Linked DNA regions of Homo sapiens: all the other regions are linked to region 2. Evidence: promoter capture Hi-C in human tissues and cell types (Jung and others, 2019). All regions are on one chromosome and are shown on one strand. The core of a region is centred on a gene start or on the middle of the fragment in contact, and the rest is flanking DNA. Distances in the headings are between cores, read along the strand shown.

Evidence for each region. The method cuts DNA at HindIII sites, captures the fragments that hold promoters and counts their contacts. A contact is called where the count stands out against the background at its distance.
Region 1: the fragment with the promoter of GRN here is called in contact with a fragment that was not itself captured in region 2 in 1 of the 25 tissues and cell types used here (dorsolateral prefrontal cortex).
Region 3: a contact is called between the fragment with the promoter of SLC25A39 here and a fragment that was not itself captured in region 2, in 1 of the 25 tissues and cell types used here (hippocampus).

What each region holds. Positions count from the first base shown.
Region 1 is chr17:44,343,898-44,347,727 of GRCh38, forward strand. It overlaps GRN (granulin precursor), which reads left to right and starts at 1,405. Exons shown (of 13, transcript NM_002087.4): 1 at 1,405-1,437. RefSeq lists enhancers at 1-376, 1,528-1,677. The HindIII fragment of the contact is 17,447 bases long and covers 1-3,830 here.
Region 2 is chr17:44,692,428-44,696,450 of GRCh38, forward strand. No RefSeq gene overlaps it. Among named protein-coding and RNA genes, the nearest start is that of CCDC43, 4.7 kb to the left of the region's middle. The HindIII fragment of the contact is 6,435 bases long and covers 1-4,023 here.
Region 3 is chr17:44,323,170-44,327,306 of GRCh38, forward strand. It overlaps SLC25A39 (solute carrier family 25 member 39), which reads right to left and starts at 1,654. Exons shown (of 12, transcript NM_001143780.3): 1 at 1,542-1,654; 2 at 309-408; 3 at 115-174. The coding sequence starts at 393. It overlaps LOC124904009 (a long non-coding RNA gene), which reads left to right and starts at 2,284. Exons shown (of 2, transcript XR_007065768.1): 1 at 2,284-2,452; 2 at 3,773-4,137. RefSeq lists silencers at 1,197-1,416, 1,437-1,866, enhancers at 1,967-2,156, 2,317-2,396, 2,447-2,506, 2,577-3,428, 2,687-2,736 and 1 more and a cis regulatory region at 3,401-4,078. The HindIII fragment of the contact is 13,748 bases long and covers 1-4,137 here.

The DNA of each region.
Region 1 (3,830 bases), core at 155-2,654, 350 kb before region 2:
TGTGGTACATTTTCTCTCCTCACCCTCCCATATCAATTCCTCGAAGGCAGGGCCGATCTGGAGACTAGGAAGCCACTTCTCTTTCGACAGCCCCCACCACAGCCCAGCCCGTGCCAGGCACCCAGCAGCTCCTGAAGCCCACTGGCATTGAACATGGCATTCAATCCCTGCCAAGCCTGCCCTTCCCATCTGGTTTCCCAGGGCTCTTCCCAACACCTCCTCCTCCACCTGCCAGTTAAAATCTTCCCAGACTCAGCTCAAGGAGATGCTCCTAAGGTGGAATGAAATCTCTTCTTCCCCACCTGGAGACAATCTACTTCCTCTCCCTACACCTGGCAACTGGCGCACAACCTTGTATCTTAAATTAGATTCAGCCTGAGACTGTCTCCCACCAATCCCTGCTCCCTGTCCTGCTGAGCACCTTGAGGAAAGGGCTTTGGGGCTGTTTATCTTTGTCCTGGAAACCATCCTTCAACTCACTCTGGGGCCTGCCTAGCATGTCAACCGAGTTTGGAGAATAGGGCAGAATAGGGCAGGACAGGACAGGACAAGACAGGGCAGGATAGGATAGGAGCGAGCCAGCTCAGTAGCTCACATTTGTAATCCCAGCGCCTTGGGGGGCTGCGGTAGGAGAATCGCTTTGGGAGCAGGAGTTGCAGGCCGCAGTGAGCTATGATCAGCTTGGGCGACTGAGCGAGACCCTGTCTCTAAAACAAACACACAAGTCCGGGCGCGGTGGCTCATGCCTGTAATCTTAGCACTTTGGGAGGCCGAGGTGGGCGGATCACGAGGTCAAGAAATCGAGACCATCCTGGCCAACATGGTGAAACCCCGTCTCTACTAAAAATACAAAAATTAGCTGGGCGTGGTGGTGCGCGCCTGTAGTCCCAGCTACTCGGGAGGCTGAGGCAGGAGAATCGCTTGAACCCGGGAGGCAGAGGTTGCAGTGAGCCGAGATCGTGCCACTGCACTCCAGCCTGGCGACAGAGTGAGACTCCGTCTCAGAACAAACAAACAAAAGGATAGAAAGGCGAGCACAAATATTCCCAATTCATAACACTCCCTCGCACTGTCAATGCCCCAGACACGCGCTATCATCTCTAGCAAACTCCCCCAGGCGCCTGCAGGATGGGTTAAGGAAGGCGACGAGCACCAGCTGCCCTGCTGAGGCTGTCCCGACGTCACATGATTCTCCAATCACATGATCCCTAGAAATGGGGTGTGGGGCGAGAGGAAGCAGGGAGGAGAGTGATTTGAGTAGAAAAGAAACACAGCATTCCAGGCTGGCCCCACCTCTATATTGATAAGTAGCCAATGGGAGCGGGTAGCCCTGATCCCTGGCCAATGGAAACTGAGGTAGGCGGGTCATCGCGCTGGGGTCTGTAGTCTGAGCGCTACCCGGTTGCTGCTGCCCAAGGACCGCGGAGTCGGACGCAGGTAGGAGAGCGGCCGCGCAGACCTCTCGCCTGCTCCTGCCCAGGGGCCCGCCAGGGCCATGTGAGCTTGAGGTTCCCCTGGAGTCTCAGCCGGAGACAACAGAAGAACCGCTTACTGAAACTCCTTGGGGGTTCTGATACACTAGGGGGAGTTTTATGGGAAAGAGGAAGCAGTAATTGCAGTGACGCCCCGTTAGAAGGGGCTTTCTACCTCCCCAGCATTCCCCCAAAGCAGGGACCACACCATTCTTGACCCAGCTCCACCCCTGTCGGTAGGTGCTGGCTTCTTCCCCTCTCCTGGTGGTGGTGGGTGGTTCCCGCGGCGGCCTGGAGCCGGAGGGGCGCGCGACCCTGGGCTGGGAGCTCCGAGGGCCTGGGAACGAGACCTGAGACCTTGGCTTCTCGAAGGTAGTAGGGACTTGGGAGTGGTGACTGAACCTGGTCTGGCTCCTCCTTACTTCCTCTTGTTGCGGGTGGGACGAGCTAGCTTCCGCCTCTCCCAGCCACTTTTTCCTGCTCATTTGCAGCTAGGTTGGCTCCCCTTTTGGGAATTTCCTCTCCCCTTGGCACTCGGAGTTGGGGGGTGCCACCTAGTGGAAGATAACGGAGCTAGGGTCTTGAAGAGGCTGCTGTCCCCTCTGGCTGTTTTGGCGGTGTAGGGTGGCATGAGAGACTGCGACTCGCCTCCTCATCCCTGTTTCTGTATGCGAGTGCTTGTATTCAGTAGAAGCATACACTATACTCCCTCAATTTAGGGTAAACAGGAGGGGCCACATGCACAGGTAATTCACCAGGGAGCCGAACACTCCTGTGCAGACAGACTCCCCTTCCCAGCAAGCCATGGCAGCGGACAGCCTGCTGAGAACACCCAGGAAGCAGGCGGTGCCAGCTGCAGGTGCTTTGCCTGGGAGCTGTGGGGCTGAGGAGAGGGTCCACTGTCCAGGACCAGTGAACTTCATCCTTATCTGTCCAGGAGGTGGCCTCTTGGGGATGCTGAGTTAGGGGAGGGGCACTTGAGGAAAGCCAGGTGGAGCAGAGAGGATGTGAGTGACTGGGTGGGTGAGATTTCCTGCCCCTCCCCCCGCAGTGGTATCCACACCTAGACTCGTGGGGTAACTGAGGCACAGACAGAGAGCAACTTCTCAGGCCCTCACAGTTGGCAATTCTAGGATTAGGACCCAAGTGCGATTTTCAGGCAGTCCCTGTACCCTGTTTCTGTTGTACCTGTTGCACCATTCCCAGGCACTGCCCATCGTGCCACTAGTGATATGAACCCAGGTCCAATACGCTCTGGGGCCATCAAAGCCTGACGTCACCATGACCTGATGTGTGACGTGTTATAGGTGTCCCTTGGTATCTTCACGGAACTGGTTCCAGGACCCCAAAATCTGTGGGTGCTCAAGCCCCTGAGATAAAATGGTGTAATATTTGCATATAACCTATACATACTTTAAATCATTTCTAGATTACTTATACCTAATACAATGGAAATGACATGTCGGCTGGGCGTGGTGGCTCATGCCTGTAATCCCACCACTTTGGGAGGCCGTGGCAGGTGGATCACCTGAGGTCTGGAGTTTGAGACCAGCCTGACCAACATGGTGAAACCCCCATCTCTACTAAAAATACAAAAATTAGCCAGGTGTGGTAGCGCACACCTATAATCCCACCTACTTGGGAGGCTGAGGCAGGAGAATTGCTTGAACCTGGGAGGCGGAGTTCGCAGTAAGCTGAGATCGCGCCACTGTACTACAGCCTGGGTGACAGAGCAGGACTCCATCTCAAAAAAAAAAGAGAAAAAGAAAAAGAAATGCCATGTAAATAGTTGTGATCCTGAATTGTTTAGGGAATAATAAGAAAGAACTATCTGTAGATGTTCAGTATAGATGCACCCATCGTAAGCCTAACTACATTGTATAACTCAGCAACGATGTAACATTTTCAGGGGTTTTTTTGTTTTGTTTTTTGAGACAGAATCTCAGTCTCACTCTGTCACCCAGGCTGGAGTATGTTGGCGTGATCTCTGCTCACTGCAACCTCCACCTCCTGGGCTCAAGCGATTCTCCTGCCTCAGCCTCTTGAGTAGCTGGGATTGCAGGTGTGCGCTACCACGCATGGCTAATTTTTGTATTTTTAATAGAGATGGGGTTTTACCACGTTGGTCAGGCTGGTCTTGAACTCCTGACCTTGGGATCCGCCCACCTGGGCCTCCCAAAGTGCTGGGATTACAGGCGTTAGCCACCGCGCCCAATATATTTTGATCCCTGGTTGGATATGGAGGGCTGACTGTACTTAACATCTCTAAGCTTCAGTTTCCTCCTTTAAAATAAAGGTGTGGCTGGGTGTGGTGGTTCAAGCCTGTAATCCCAGCACTTAGGGAGGCTGAGGTGGGTG
Region 2 (4,023 bases), core at 1,056-3,555:
GGATTACAGGCACCCAGCACCACACCCGGCTAATTTTTTTCCTATTTTTAGTAGAGATAGGGTTTTGCCATGTTGGCCAAGCTGGTCTCAAACTGCTGATCTCAGGTGATGCACCTGCTTCGGCATCCCAAAGCGCTGGGATTACAGGCATGAGACACTGCTCCTGGCCATAATGCAATAAGGTTTTTTGAAAGCATCAACAAGCTTCTCAAAAACTGAATCAAGGTTCTCCAGACCCTAAATTTTAAGAATATCCTCAATGGCTATTTTACTACAAAAGTAACATAGCTCATGCTTTAAAAAATATTATATAAGGCCAAGCACGGTGGCTCACGCCTGTAATCCCAGCACTTTGGAAGGCCAACGCGGGTAGATCAACTGAGGTCGGGAGTTCGAGACCAGCCTGGCCAACTGGTGAAACCCCATCTCTACTAAAAAAATACAAAAAAATGGCCCTGCGCGGTGGCTCACACCTGTAATCCCAGCACTTTGGGAGGCCGAGGCGGGCAGATCACGAGGTCAGGAGATCGAGACCATCCTGGATAATAGGTGAAACCCCGTCTCTACTAAAAATACAAAAAAAAATTAACTGGGTGTGGTTGCGGGCGCCTATAGTCCCAGCTACTAGGGAGGCTGAAGCAGGAGAATGGCGCGAATCCGGGAGGCAGAGCTTGCAGTGAGCCGAGATCTGACCACTGCTCTCCAGCCTGGGCAACAGAGTGAGACTCCATCTCAAAAAAAAACAAAAAAAACAAAAAAATTAGCCAGCTATGGTGGTAGGCGCATGTAATCCCAGTTACTTGGGAGGCTGAGGCAGGAGAATTGCTTGAAACCAGGAGGCGGAGGTTACAGTGAGCTGAGATTACGCCATTGTACTCCAACCTGGGCAACAAGGGCAAAACTCTGTCTCAACAAAAAAAAAGAAAAAATTATATAAATGGATAAGCGACAAATTGAAAGCTTACAAAAAATAAAATACGCAAATTAAGATTGCAGTGAAATACCACGTCCGCTTTTCAGATCAAAAAAGTCTGATAATATGCTGTATTGAACTGTGCTTGGGTAAAAGACATTGGAAAATGTTAGAGCAGAAAGTAAATGGATCTGGTCTTGTTGGAGGACTGTTTGTTTGAAAAGACCCAGCATTTCTGCTTCTGGGAATTTGTTCATAAGTTATTCATTTATTTTTATCTTTACTTGTGGTAAAATACACAATTTGCCATCTTAACTATTTTTAAGTATACGATTTAATAGTGTTAAGTATTAATTATTTTTAAAATTTTTGGTTTAAACTGGGCGTGGTGCCTGTTTAAACTGGGCGTGGTTTAAACTGGGCGTGGTTGGCTGGGCGCGGTGGCTCACGCCTGTAATCCCCGCACTTAGGGAGGCCAAGGTGGGTGGATCACTGAGGTCAGGAGTTCAAGACCAGTCTAGCCAACATGGCAAAACCCTGTCTCTACTAAAAATATAAAAATTAGCCAGGTGTGGTAATGCATGCCTATAGTCCCAGCTACTTGGCCACTTGAGAAGCTGAGGCAGGAGATTCACTCGAATTCGGGACACGGAGGTTGCAGTGAGTTGAGATAATGCCACTGCATTCCAGCCTGGGCAACAGAGTGAGACTCTGTCTCAAAAAAAGAAAAAAATTTTGATTTAATATTTTGTATAATGGCCAGGCACACTGGCTTACACCTGTAATCCCAGTACTTTGGGAGGCTGACAAGGGAGGATTGCTTGAGGCCAGGAGTTCGAGACTAACCTGGTCAACATAATGAGACCCCAGCTCTACAAAAAAAAAAAGTGGTGGTGCATGTCTTTTGTCCTACCTACTCAGGAGGTTGAGGCAAGAGGATCACTTGAGCCCAGGAGCTCAAATTTACATGAGCTATGATGATGCCACTGCATTCTAGCCTGAACAACAGAACAAAACTCTGTCTTTAAAAAATAAAACTGTGCATTTGTGTAGAATCACATTTTTCTAAGGATATTCATTGTAGTGAAGCTTTTTGTAGTAAAAGAATAGTCTACATTTTATGTATATGAGACTGGTTCAAAAACTCTGGTAGCCACACAAAGAAGTATTGCACAGCTGTAAAAAAAAAAAAAAAAATGAACAAAGAGGCCGGGCGCGGTGGCTGGTGCCTGTAGTCCCAGCACTTTGGGAGGCCAAAGCAGGTGGATCACCTGAGGTCAAGAGTTCGAGACCAGCCTGGCCAACTAAAAATACAAAAATTAGCTGGGCATGGTGGTAAGCACCTGTAATCCCAGCTACTCGGGAGGCTGAGGCAGGAGAATCGCTTGAATCCAGGAGGCAGAGGTTGCAGTGAGAGGAGATCATGCCATTGCTCTCCAGCCTGGGCTACAGAGCAAGACTCCGTCTCGAAAAAAAAAAAAAAAAAAGAACAAAGAAGCTCTTTATGCACTGACATGTATCAAAGTTCGAGATACATTGTTTAAAAAGTACAGATCAACAATATGTAATGCTTGCCACCATCACTATTTAAAAAGAAGTTAGGGTAGGGGAATACATGTACATATGTGTCCTTGTATGTGCATAGGCTATCTCTGGAAAGATACACCAGGGATATGTGAGAATGGTTGTCCACTGAGGAGGAGAACTGAAGGAGACTGGTTTTGAACTGTTATATTTATTTACTTTGTATCTTTTTGTAAAAGAAAGCAAATTTGAAGCCCTTTCTCCAACCTCATTTTCTCCCCTCTCTCCCCAGATGTAACCACTATTCCTGAATTTGGTGTTTATTTTCTTCTTGAATGTTTTTAAACATAGTACACATTGCTACATATATAATACATATTACAACATATGGATGTATCCATAATATATCACATTGGTGTGCATGCTGTACTTTTCATTCTGCAATGTGCTTTTTCACTCAAGGTTGTTTAAAATATTTACCCATGTTGGGCCGGGCGCAGTCGCTCATGCCTGTAATCCCAGCACTTTGGGAGGCCTAGGCGGGTGGATCAGCTGAGGTCAAGAGTTTGAGACAAGCCTCACCAACATGGTGAAACCCCATCTCTACTAAAGCTACAAAAATTAACTGGGCGTGGTCACGCACGCCTGTAATCCCAGCTACTTAGGAGGCTGAGGCAGGAGAATAGCTTGAACCTGGGAGGCGGAGGTTGCAGTGAGCCAAGACTGCGCCACTGCACTCCAGCCTAGGTGACAGAGCAAGACCCTGTCTCAAAAAATATATACGTGTATATGGCCGGGCACGGTGGCTCATGCCTGTAATCCCAGCACTTTGGGAGGCCAAGGCGGGCGGATCACCTGAGGTCAGGGGTTCGGGACAAGCCTGACCAACATGGAGAAACCCCATCTCTACTAAAAATGCAAAATTAGCCAGGTTTGGTGGCACATGCCTGTAATCCCAGCTACTTGGGAGGCTGAGACAGGAGAATCGCTTGAACCCGGGAGGCGGAGGTTGCGGTTAGCCGAGATCGCGCCATTGCACTCCAGCCTGGGCAACAAAAGCGAAACCCCATCTCAAAAAAAAAAAGAAAAAAATATATATAATATATATGTATCTATATATATTTTATATATATCTTTACCCATGTTGATATATGTAGCTCTTATCCATCCATTTAAATCACTGCATAGTATTCCGTTGCTTTAATATGCTCCAGCTGATCCATTCCTCTGCCGATGGATGGTGAGGTTAGTTCCTAGTTTTCCAGTCAGTGCACCAGTTCACATTCTTAGGTGGTCCCCTTGCCCACCATGGGAAAGTTCCTCTAGATCAGTGAGCATCAGACATTTTTGCCACATACTCTTAGCAGTAAAAATATTCTCAGCATGTACACCTAATGCACTAATATGTAGTTATTTATGAATTATTTGTGTGAACTGCTATATCAAATTAGTATGTCCATCATAAAACATACAAAAAGAGAACTACAAAAAGGAGAAAATCGTTAAAAAATGAAGTAGGCCGGGCGTGATGGCTCACACCTGTAATCCCAACACTTTGAGAGGCCGAGGTGGGTGGATCACTTGAG
Region 3 (4,137 bases), core at 404-2,903, 370 kb before region 2:
ACCTCAGCCTCCCAAAGCGCTGGGATTACAGGTATGAGAAACCACGGCCAGCCTCTGGGAGATCTTTCTTTTGCCCAGGCACCACCCCTCACTAGTTCCAGGTCAGGTACTCACCGCTGGCCATGGAGGGCCGCTGAGACTGCAGGCGAACCTTCACCACGTCCAGGGGTGTCACTGGGGGAGGAAGCGGGTCTGAAGGCTCCTTTCAGGACCCCACCCCTAGGACTCCTCCCCCAGGACCACACAGCCTCCAATCTCCGGTCTGCCCCATCCCCACCCGCCCCCACCCCACCTCCCCTAGGTCTTACTGAAGAGAGAGGTAACCACAGCCCCGGTGCCTGAGGCCACCATTTGCTGGAGGGGGCTGATGCCCGCAGGGTCCTGGTCAGCCATCTTGAAGCTTCAGTCCTGAAAACCAAACCTCAAACAGACCACAACTCCAGGGATGGCAGGAAAGGAGGCTGGGCCACTGTGAGACTTTTGTTTTGAGACGGCGTCTCGCTCTGCGCACTGTTGCCAGGCTGGAGTGCAGTGGCACCATCTTGGCTCACTGCAACATCCACCCCCGTTCAAGCGGTTCTCTTGCTTCAGCCTCCCAAGTAGCTGGGACTACAGGCGCGCACCACCACGCCTAGTTAATTTTTGCATTTTTAGTAGAGACAGGGTTTCACCATGTTGGCCAAGATGATCTCGATCTCCTGACCTCGTGATCCGCCCGCCTCAGCCTCCCAAAGCACTGGGATTACAGGCGTGAGCCACCGCACCCGGCCCACTGTGAGACTTTAACCCAACCCTCATCCACCGCCCTCGAAACATCTGTTGCCTCAACAACCCTGGCAATGACCTCTAAAGCAGGGACTGTCCGCCCCCCTCCGCCGGGGAAAACTAAGGCTCGGGGAGACGAGGTGGCCTGCCCAAGGTCACTCAGGAGTGGTTCCGAAGGAAGCTAGGGTGCCAGACCTATCGCTCGAATGCAGTAGGAGCCAGGGTCCTTCCCTCGTCCACCTCGCACGTGTCCACTGCGCACCTCCTACGTGCAGGCGCGGATTTGGCCCTCGTGGCCCCAAAATCAGAGTACCTGTGCTGCCCCCACAGCCCCCACTCCAGCACCAAGGCCCCGGGCAGGCACCTGAGAGCCCAAGTTACTGGGCGTGGAGGGACGGCCGGGCATCGAGGGTGACGTGTAAACAGATCCGGTGACCAAGAAGGGCCCGTCGCCTCCTCAGGACTGCGGGCTGGGATGCCCGGCCCTCCCCGCCCGGCCGGACGGGCCAGACCCGGGGCCCGGAGAGAAAGAGCAGTCTCTGGGTTCCCGCCCCAAAATGCAGGCCCGGGGCGCAGCCGGGAGAGCGGGAAGTAGGAACGTAGGACCAGGACGTCTCCCCGACCCTCGGCGACACTCCCGGCCCCGAACGGCGGAGAGCCGCCAGGTGAGGGGGACCACGCCAGCTCGACGGCCCCAGCACCTGCCCTGGCTCGCACGGCCGCCCGGAGACCCCCGCTTCCGTCTCCGCCCCCAGCCCCGGCCCAGTGCCGCCTACCTGGCTCTAGGCTGGTGCTCGTGCGGCGCGGCGCCCAGGGTCAGGCGGGCCCATACCGGCTCCGCCGCCTGTGCGCGGTCCGCGCGCGCTCGCAGCGCACCTAGGCCGACGCCGAAAGCAGCCAAGGGGGCCCCGCCCCTACACCGCGCCACGAGGCCCCGCCCGCCGCGGGCCGACCAGCCGCAAGCCCGGAGTGTCCCCGGCTCCGCCCACTCGCGTCTCCGCCCGGACCTGCGACGGTCCCGCCCCCTTGACGGGGCCGCGCGGGCGAGTTCCATGCCTGTCCAGCGCTGAGAGCTGCCGGCCAACTTCGCGGTCTCCACGTCGCGCTTAACGTGGCAGCAGCACGCACTTCCAGCATCTTTTTTTAGACAGCATCTTTTTCAGCCTCGCTCTGTCGCCGAGGCTGGAGGGCAGTGGCGCGATCTAGGCTCACTGCAGCCTTGACCTCCCGGGTTCAAGCGATCCTCCTGCCTCAGCCTCCGGAGTAGCTGGGACCACAGGCGCGCGCCGCCACGCCCGGCTGGTTTGTTACTTTTATTTTTGTCTCCCTATTTTGCCCAGGCTAGTCTGGAACTCCTGGGCTCAAGCGATCCGCCCACCTCGGTCTTCGAAAGTGCTGGGATTCCAGGCGTGAGCCGCCGCGCCGGCCTTAACAGCGCATTTTCACCAGCCCCGCCCCGGCCGCGCGCGGCACTGGAAACCCCAGCGCCTTCTGGACGGCGAGGGTGACGCACTGGCCCTCTTCCTCGGTGTCCTCAGGTGCGTGGCGGCGGCAGTGAGAATGAGTTCTTCGAGATCGCCGGGAGACCACACAATAACGACGAAGTTACTTGCCGGGCTACCCGCCGAGACTTGAAAACTTCGCGGCGACTTCTCTCGCCGGCCTTAGCATCGCCCCCATTTTTCAGGTTACAGGACAGGCCTGCAACTGCAAAACGCTTTGTAAACCACAGGGCCCCGCGCGGGTGTGCGCCACTGGGTTAGCTGAGCTGCAGCCCGGGCCGGGCGGGCTGGGACGTGAGCAAGCCGGGGGAGACGGGAGAGCCATGGGGAGCCAGATCCCACCTTCGCGTGACCTTGGGCAAATCACAACCTCGCCTAAGGCCCGGAATGACTCTGCGCGGAGAGGAAGAGCACTGAGTGCGGGAGGGCATCGACGTTTTGGTGTTGGTTGCTCTCGTATCGTGATTTCTTCTGAGTCTCAAAACTCTTTGCAGTAGGTTATTGTTGAAATAGATTACCACAGGCCGGGCGCGGTGGCTCACGCCTGTAATCCAGCACTTTAGGAGGCCGAGGCGGGCGGATCACTTGAAGTCAGGAGTTCGAGACCAGCCTGGCCAACATGGTGAAACCCCGTCTCTACTAAAAATACAAAAGTAGCCGGGCATGATGGCTGGCGCCTGTAATCCCAGCTACTCGGGAGGCTGAGGCAGGAGAATCGCTTGAACCCGGCCGGCGGAGGTTGCAGTGAGCCGAGATCGCACCACTGCATTCCAGCCTGGGCAACAGAGTAACACTCCGTCTCAAAAAAAAAGGCCGGGCGCAGTGGCTTACGCCTGTAATCCCAGCCTTTTTGGAGGCCGAGGCGGGCGGATCACCAGAGGTCAGGAGTTCGAGAGCAGCCTGACCAACATGGTGAAACCTCGTCTCTACTAAAAATACAAAAAATTAGCCGGGCGTGGTGGCGCATGCCAGTAATCCCAGCCACTCGAGAGGCTGAGGCAGGAGAATCGCTTAAACCCGGAAGGCGGAGGTTGCGGTGAGCCGAGACTGCGCCATTGCACTCCAGCCTGGGCAACAAGAGCGAAACTCCGTCTGAAAAAGAAATAGATTACCCCGTTTTACAGAAAGTGAAACTGAGGCTCGACGTGAAGAGCCGGAGATTCGAACCGGCCGGGTGCTTTTCCCAGGGCTCCACACTGCCTCCCCGGGAGACAGGAAGGCTTAAGTCCAGCGCTGCCCTCTCCGATCCCGCTTGTCAGGGAGACACTTTATTTCCCGGGGCAGCCCCGTACCCCAGGCCCCACCACCCACTTCGCGTTTAGAACTTCTGTGCTATCTTGCTTATTTGTCCTAACAGAGAAACCAGCACGCGCGGGCGGTGGCGGAGGGGGGCGGGCGGGCGGGTGGAGGCGGGGGGGGGCGGGCGGGGAGATGGGTACTCCTAGCCTGCGCCTTTAAGAAGGGTAGGCCTCGACTTTGACGTCTCTGCCTTCCCCGCCCTTCAGGCCCCCACTGGTCGCGTCCGGCGCTGGAGGAGCCCAGTCAGCCGGCGCCTGCCGGGTTAGCACGTGGACTCCGAGGGGCCAACTATCAGCTTTCCCTGACAAAATGCCTTTGAGCTCCCCCACAGCTCTGAAACTCCAGCTTGGGAGCAGGGAGAGTGCAATCTGTGACCTGTAAAGGGGCGCTGGGCAAAAGGGCCCGAGAGAAGGCGTCCTTTCCATTCCCTTCCCATCTCAAGCTGAGTTCAGAAATGACACGAAATAATTTAATCAACTATCAGTCAAGGTCGGGCTCACGCCTGTAATCCCAGCAGTTTGGGAGGCCGAGGTGGGCGGATCACCTGAGGACAGGAGTTCGAGACCAGCCT